Regions from separate parts of the Homo sapiens genome. Here region 2 is linked to region 1. Evidence: promoter capture Hi-C in human tissues and cell types (Jung and others, 2019). All regions are on one chromosome and are shown on one strand. The core of a region is centred on a gene start or on the middle of the fragment in contact, and the rest is flanking DNA. Distances in the headings are between cores, read along the strand shown.

Region 1 (3,745 bases), core at 875-3,374:
GTTGTTCCTGGTGAGGAGGTTTTGCCTGGGGAAGGAGTAAGGGACTGGACGCGTCGGATATTTGGGGAAGAAGGAAAACCCAGTGTGCGCAAGGACCACAAAGGGGTCCTCCAGCTGGAGCTGAGCTCTGCCGGCGGGCACGTGCTGCTTGTCCTCCCAGGAGCCTTGGGCTGCTCCCTCCGGAAGGCACAGGGAGAAATAAGGGGTCCTGAGAAATGTCACTGCCTGCACCCAGCAAAAGCCCATTTCTTTCTTCTCCTTCTCTTTTTATTTTTCTTTTCTTCTTGCTCTCTCATTGCCCCCAGCCCGCCCCACTCCTGTTCTCTCCTCCTGCACCTGCAATTCCTAAACAACCCTGATGTTTTTCTGATTTCCGGTCCCTCCGTCGAGTCTGTCTTTAAAGATGAGTACTTTTTGCTTTGCTACTGTTATTTTTTTAGATAATTTATTGTTAAATAAAGAATTTTAAAGCAAAATGCAGTGGGACAGATGTCAAAGGCAAGTTGAAAACATAATTTCTGTCAAATACTATTCTGGATTTCCTAAGGTTAGGCACAAGAAAAGCATCAAATGAAAAGGTACTTACTCAAACTAAGTCTTTTTAAAAAGTCTGTATTTGAAAGGAAAACAACTTTTCACTAAAAATATAAATCATTCTTATTACAGGAAAACCATAATTTAAGAGACTGAGAAAAGTTTTTGATTCACAAATAAATGGCATCTCCCTAATACACTTAGGACTGTTTGTTTTTAATCAGTGACTCTTAAAAATCACTGCTTCCACCTGACAAACTCAGGCGAATCACTATGGATTGGTGTCCTCTGAGCCACCCTGAAGCATCCCATTTTCTCTACACATGTCCTTTTCTCCAACTTTCAGCAAAGCAAGAATGGAGAAAAAGAGGATTAGAAGGAACTTCAGTTGGTTCCCTGGTGAATAACTTAACAAAATAAAACCTGCTTTTCCATTTGTATTACACATTCACAATCTCTCACTCTTACTTACTCTATTGGTGAATTTCAGATTCTGTCCACACATATAATTATTTGCCTGAACTTAACACTATCTTCCTGACAAATAGTAAATCTCCCAAGGACATCTCCGAACCTGGCAGTGTCCACAGGCCACGTCCTCCCACAGGAGTCCCTCGCCTGCTATGCAGCTGTTGGCGTCCTGAGCGATCCCAGTGTTTCCATGGGGGCAGAGCAAAACCTTGGGGATTCTCTAACATAATTTTAAGACTACATTTCACACTTAAATGACCACGTTATGAAACCTGGCAGGAAAATCCATGTTATTAATAAATGCCATGTCTCTTGCTCTCCCAAACACAGGAAGTATTTTTTGCTCTGCATATGTCTGCGGAGACTGTGGGGTCCCAGAGTGGAAAACTTCTCTAGTAACAAAGTACAGAAATTATCCCTGAAGTATAGTCTTTGCTTTGCTACTTCTGTAAGCTGTGTAACTGGTGAATTTTGCCTGTCTCCTGTCCTCCACTCCCCAAGCTGCAAGTCCGCAGGTGTCAGTGGGGCCTTGGCCCTCTCCCACGGGCCTCCCCGACACCCCCTGCAATGCCCTTCCCCCCGGCAGACCCCAGCTAGTGCTCACTGCCTGCGCTGGTTTGATTTCGATAGGTCCACAAGAGGATTTCCACCCTCTTAGTCTCTAAGGAAGATGGACTGCCCCAAGAAGGGAACCGCAATGAGGCTTGAAATCTTTTTCGTCTGGTGGGGGCAATGGGATGTATCAGGATCCTGCCTCCTGAGATGCGGCCCACCTAAACGGGCGTGGACATCTCCTCTTGGCCACACTCGAAACATCCCATGCTGCGGCCAAGCTCGGATAATAAAATGGTGCCACTAATTGTACGCCTTCCCAAAGCCTCCCACCTTCATTTTCTGATTGCCGTTTCTGAAAGATGGAGGTGTAGGCAGCTGTTGAGAATGAGCCACTTACCTGGCAGGTAGCAGCAAAAGGTCTGAAATGGCAGATGAGTCCTGGTGAGCTCACCTCCTCTGCAAAGGGTGATGATTGCTGTAAAGTGTCTTGGTCCCAGATGCTAAGATTCCCTAGACGTGGACTGGCAGCTGAGCTCCAGAGGCCAGGGCACGTGTGACAGAATTATTTATCCATCTTCCACCCTAAGATATATGCCGTTTGCTCTGCCCTTGGCTATGGAAACCAAGATGGATAGAACAAAACAAGGAAGTCGTCACATCCTGTCTCTGAGAAAAATCTTGAATTCCCATGTAAAATATCTCTCCAGGGTCACAGAAGGAGGGGAAAGGTATCTGAGAGCTTTGTAGAGAGCGACAGCTGCAGAGGCTCAAAGTGAGGAGAAAACGCTCCAGCTGGGTTCAGGGTCTTTGTGCCAGTGAAGCTCGGACTCCAAGGAGGCAGGGTAGCAGTCCCCGAACAGTGAAAGAGAGTAGACTGCAGTCTCCACTAACTAACCACGAGGAAGGGGCTGATGACCAATTTTTAACCCACCATAACCTTCTCCTCAGGACAAGGTCAGTAAGGAACAAATCCTGGGGGCATTGTCGTGAGGCAACCTGCAAAACCTGTTCACGTGCAACTTAGAAATGCAGGAGGGTGCTGGATTGGGATTTCTCTAGTGGAGAAGAGGTCAGAAAAGAAGCAGCAAGCACTACCCCAGCCCAGCCCACCCCATCTTACTGTAGGCCATGGTGCAACTTGGGCATTAGCGGACTGAGGCACCAGCCACCCAGCTGCAGCCCACACTGACGTCCCCTCCAGGGAACAGGCCAGAGCTGAGGCACGAGCAGCTCAAGCACATGCAGTGTTGTGGGAAACTGAGGACCGGAGAGACCGATGTGAAGAACAGGAGGATTGTTTATTTTAGGTACACACCGGCTCAGTGGACTCACATCCAAAAAGCTGAGCATTAAACAAAGACAGAGCGGGGTTTTTGTAAGTGGACTTACAATAAATAAAACAAAAGCAGCTAATCATGATAGGTCACATAATCTATAGCATAGCATAACTTGTGGCCTTGCACAGCGGGTGACTTTGTAGCTGCATTGAAAGAAAAACAAGAACTGGCTAAGTACAGACATTTGTAAAACACAATCATGCTTAAGAAGCCTGGGAAAACAGTAACAGTAAAAGAATTTGTCTTTCTCTCTTTTTCCTTCAACCTTGCTCTGGAAGTGGGGCGGCGGGTATCTGGAGCCCATTCCTTTGGCCTTGGCTTTCTGGACACTGTTATAACTGTCCTTGCAGTGGGCTTGCTATAGGCAGAGGAAAACTTGTCCTTTACTTTTTAACCCTTGCCTTGCCTGTTACTTTTCTTGGAGTGAATGAAGGCATATGTATTTTTAAATTTTCTGCCTCAGTAGCACACCCCAGGGACTCCCAGAAGTGCCTGTGTTTGTAGAGGGGCCTCTGCAGGTGACAGGGCGCTACATGGGTGGGAGACGGGAGCCAGCAAGCTTCAGGCATGGACCTGGAGGTGACTGTCTGTGCTCAGACAGGCTGGTGAGACTGGGCACCCAGGCTTATTAATGTGAACAGATGTCCCTAGGACAGCAAAAGGGGCTGAACAGTGAGCTCAAACAGTGGGTGCAGTTCCCCGGGCCTGGGGAGACAGAGGAGGGCTCAAGGACAGGGTATACTTAAGATGGATGCTGCATAAACAGTAGGATCAGGGAAGCCATGGGCAGCCCGGGAGGACAGAGCCTGCGAGGACAGACATTCTTCGTGGAGGGAGGTGATTAGCAT
Region 2 (3,692 bases), core at 416-2,915, 39 kb after region 1:
ACAGTCACGCACCACCACACCCAGCTAATTATTTTATTTTATTTTTTAAAAATTTTTTGTAGAGAGGAGTTCTCGCCATGTTGCCCAGGATGGTCTTACACTCCTGGGCTCAAGTGATCCTCCCACATCGGCCTCCCAAAGTGCTGGGATTACAGACACGAGCCACGGCACTCAGCCTGTTGGTAGAAATTTATGTGAACTCTTTATGTACTGAAAATCAATTATCTGCTTATCCTGTGCTCCATGTAAAGTAGAAAGGGATTGGCAGAGGCTGGCATTTTCTGAAGGAGCCATTTCAGGCCAGCACAGAGGAGGCTGAAGACTGGGTTCCCTGTGCCTCAGCTGGTGGCCCCTGTAGGCCTAGGGCTGGAAGAGCAGAGCCCAGAGGTGTGTGAGGGCAGCCTGATATCAGCTCCACTGGAACCATGAAGAAGGTATGGGCCCATGCTTCTCTCTCTCACTTACCTTTGGATTTGAAGAAAACAATTATCATCCCCATGACAACACCACACAGGGCACCACAGAGTAACCCGAGTAAAATAGAAGCCAGGCGCCAAGGTGAGGGCTGGAAAAACGTCTCTGAAAAACAGTCCCACAGACCCTTAGTGATAGCTAAGCAGGTAAGACAATTTTACGCCCATTTAAGGAATCCCCCAGTACCCCAAGATGAAAACATTTTTCTCTCATTTCTTCCACAGATTTAAAGCTTTGCATTTCTATAAACATCTTGATCCATCCGGATTTCATATATATATATATATATATATATATATATATATTCACGTGTGTGTGTGTGTGCGCGTTAAAGCTTTGCATTTCTTTATAAGTCTTGATCCATCTGGATTTCATATATATATATATATATATATATATACACACACACGTGTGTGTGTGTGTGTGTGTGTCTATGTCTAATGAGGCAGAAGTTCAATGTCATCTTCTTCTAAGCAGGTGTTGACTGTGCTGGCAATGTTTGTTGAGTGGACCTTGCTTTACACACTGCCACACATGCAAGGTCACCTCTGTGTACCTCATGTTCAAGCTTGGATTTGTTTCTGGGCTCTTTGTTCTCTCTCATTGATCCATAGGGTTATCTCTGTGCCAATAATTTTAATTGGCTTAATCTTCAAAGCTTTGGGATATGTCTCTGAGATAAGACTAAGCTTCTTAGCTTGCTCTTATTCCACTGTATCTTAGCAATTCTTGGCTATTTGTTTTGCCACATAAACTTTGGAATTGACTTGTTAGGCTTTAAGAAAACTCTGGGCCAGGTGCAGTGGCTCATGCCTATAAACCCAGCAGTTTGGGAGGCCAAAGTGGGAGGATTTCTTTTTTTTTTTAAAGGTAATGTTTATTCTTTTCTCCTTTAGATTTCTTTGTTTTGTTTTGTTTTGTTTTGTTTTGTTGAGACAGAGTCTCGCTCTGTTGCCCAGGGAGGAGTGCAGTGGCGCGATCTCGGCTCACTGCAACCTCTGCCTCCCGGGTTCACGCCATTCTCCTTCCTCAGCCTCCTGAGTGGCTGGGACTACAGGCGCCCGCCACCACGCCTAGCTAATTTTTTGTATTTTTAGTAGAGATGGGGTTTCACCATGTTAGCCAGGATGGTCTCGATCTCCTAACCTCGTGATCCTCCCGTCTCGGCCTCCCAAAGTGCTGGGATTACAGGCATGAGCCACCGCGCCTGGCCGGGAGGATTTCTTAAGGACAGGAGTTCGAGACCAGTCTAGGCAACAAAGTGAGACCCCCCCCCATCTATAAAAATATTTAAAATTAAAAAAAATTAGCCAGGCATGGTGGTGCACACCTGTGGTCCCAGCTACTTGGGAGGCTGAGGTGGGAGGATTGCTTGAGCATGGGAAATTGAGGTTGCAATGAGCCATGATTGCACCACTATACTCCAGCATGGGTGACAGAGTGACAGCTCATCTCAAAAAACAAACAAACCAAAAAATGTGCTGAGATTTTTCTATGGAATTGTATTGAATCTGTACAGCAATTCTAGGAGAACTGGTATCTTTAAAAACATGCATCTTCTTATCTGAAAGGTGTTATGTTTGTTCTCTTATTTTAGTTTTCATTAGTGTCTTTTAATACAGTTTTATAATACCCTTCAATAAGATTTTGTAAACATTTTATTAGATTTTGTTTATTCCTCTCATTTTTCATGAACACGATGGATTCCTTTATGAGTTGAAAGAATTTGTCTGTAAATTTTTCTAAATTTTCCGTTTATATCATCATATAAACTGTGAACAATGGCCATTTAATTTTTTTCTTTCTAAAAGTTATAACTTTTACATTTTCTTCCCTTATTGAAGTGGCTGCTAATAGTAACAGTACTCTAATATAATGTGGAACAGAAGTGTTTAATGCAATCTCCTTATGTTATGATTTTATTTTATTTTATTTTATTTTTTTATTTTATTTTATTTTTTTTTGAGACGGAGTCTCGCTCTGTCGCCCAGGCCGGACTGCGGACTGCAGTGGCGCAATCTCGGCTCACTGCAAGCTCCGCTTCCCGGGTTCACGCCATTCTCCTGCCTCAGCCTCCCGAGTAGCTGGGACTACAGGCGCCCGCCACCGCGCCCGGCTAATTTTTTGTATTTTTAGTAGAGACGGGGTTTCACCTTGTTAGCCAGGATGGTCTCGATCTCCTGACCTCATGATCCACCTGCCTCGGCCTCCCAAAGTGCTGGGATTACAGGCGTGAGCCACCGCGCCCGGCCTATGTTATGATTTTAAATGACACATTATGTATAATGTTTTCGGTATGTATTTAAAAAATTAGGTGGCTTATTATTTTGTATGATGTTTGCTGCAAGTATCTTTAGATATCTTTTTATCAGATTAAGCAGAGTCTCTCCTATTTCTAGATTGATAAAAAAAATTTTCTTCTATTTCTAGATTTGCAAGTGTTGAAATCATGATGAATAGATGTAGAAAGTTATCTGTTTTATTTACATCTACTAAGAAAATTATAGTTTATCTCTTTTAACGAATTATGTTATAATTACATTAATATATGTTCCCATGTTGACCTAACATTTTTTTCCAGGATAAGTTTGGTCATGATATATGTTTTTGTGGACTTTTCTACTTGCAAAATTTTTGGTAAGATTTTTACATTTTCAATTATGAGTAATGTTGGTAAAAATTTTTCCTTTTTTGAATTGCCCATTTCTCTTATGATACCAAAATTATGTTGACTCAATAAAATGAGTTTAATATTTCCTATTTTTCTGCTCTCTGGCCGACTTTCTGAAAGATACATTTTCTCTTTTCTTGAATATTTGGTAGACTTTGTATATAAAACAATGTGGGCCTTGTGTCTTCCTTGTGGGAAGACTTTTAAATGCTGAGTCCACCTCTTTCATGGTTACAAATTAGTCAGGTAGTCTATCTTTCCTTCGGATTTTGTATTTTACGTTTTTCTTCTTTTTTAAAAATTTTTGAGACAAAGTCTCACTCTGTCCCCCAGGCTGGAGTACAGTGGGGCGATCTCAGCTCACTGCAATCTCTGTCTCCTGGATTTAAGTGATTCTCCAGCCTCAGCCTCCAGAGTAGCTGGGATTACAGACACACACCACCACGCCCAGCTAATTTTTGTATTTTTAGTAGAGATGGGGTTTCGCCATGTTGGGCAGGCTGGTCTCAAACTCCTGACCTCAAGCGATCTGCCCGCCTCAGCCTTC

The links. Contacts are between HindIII fragments. The study calls those that stand out against the background at their distance.
Region 2: a contact is called between a fragment that was not itself captured here and the fragment with the promoter of BTNL9 in region 1, in 5 of the 25 tissues and cell types used here (bladder, lymphoblastoid cells, mesenchymal stem cells and 2 more).

The regions. Positions count from the first base shown.
Region 1 is chr5:181,038,645-181,042,389 of GRCh38, reverse strand. BTNL9 (butyrophilin like 9) reads right to left here and starts at 2,124. Exons shown (of 11, transcript NM_152547.5): 1 at 1,958-2,124. The HindIII fragment of the contact is 13,573 bases long and covers 1-3,745 here.
Region 2 is chr5:180,999,559-181,003,250 of GRCh38, reverse strand. BTNL3 (butyrophilin like 3) reads right to left here. Exons shown (of 8, transcript NM_197975.3): 4 at 466-579. Among named protein-coding and RNA genes, the nearest start is that of BTNL3, 13 kb to the right of the region's middle. The HindIII fragment of the contact is 3,918 bases long and covers 1-3,624 here.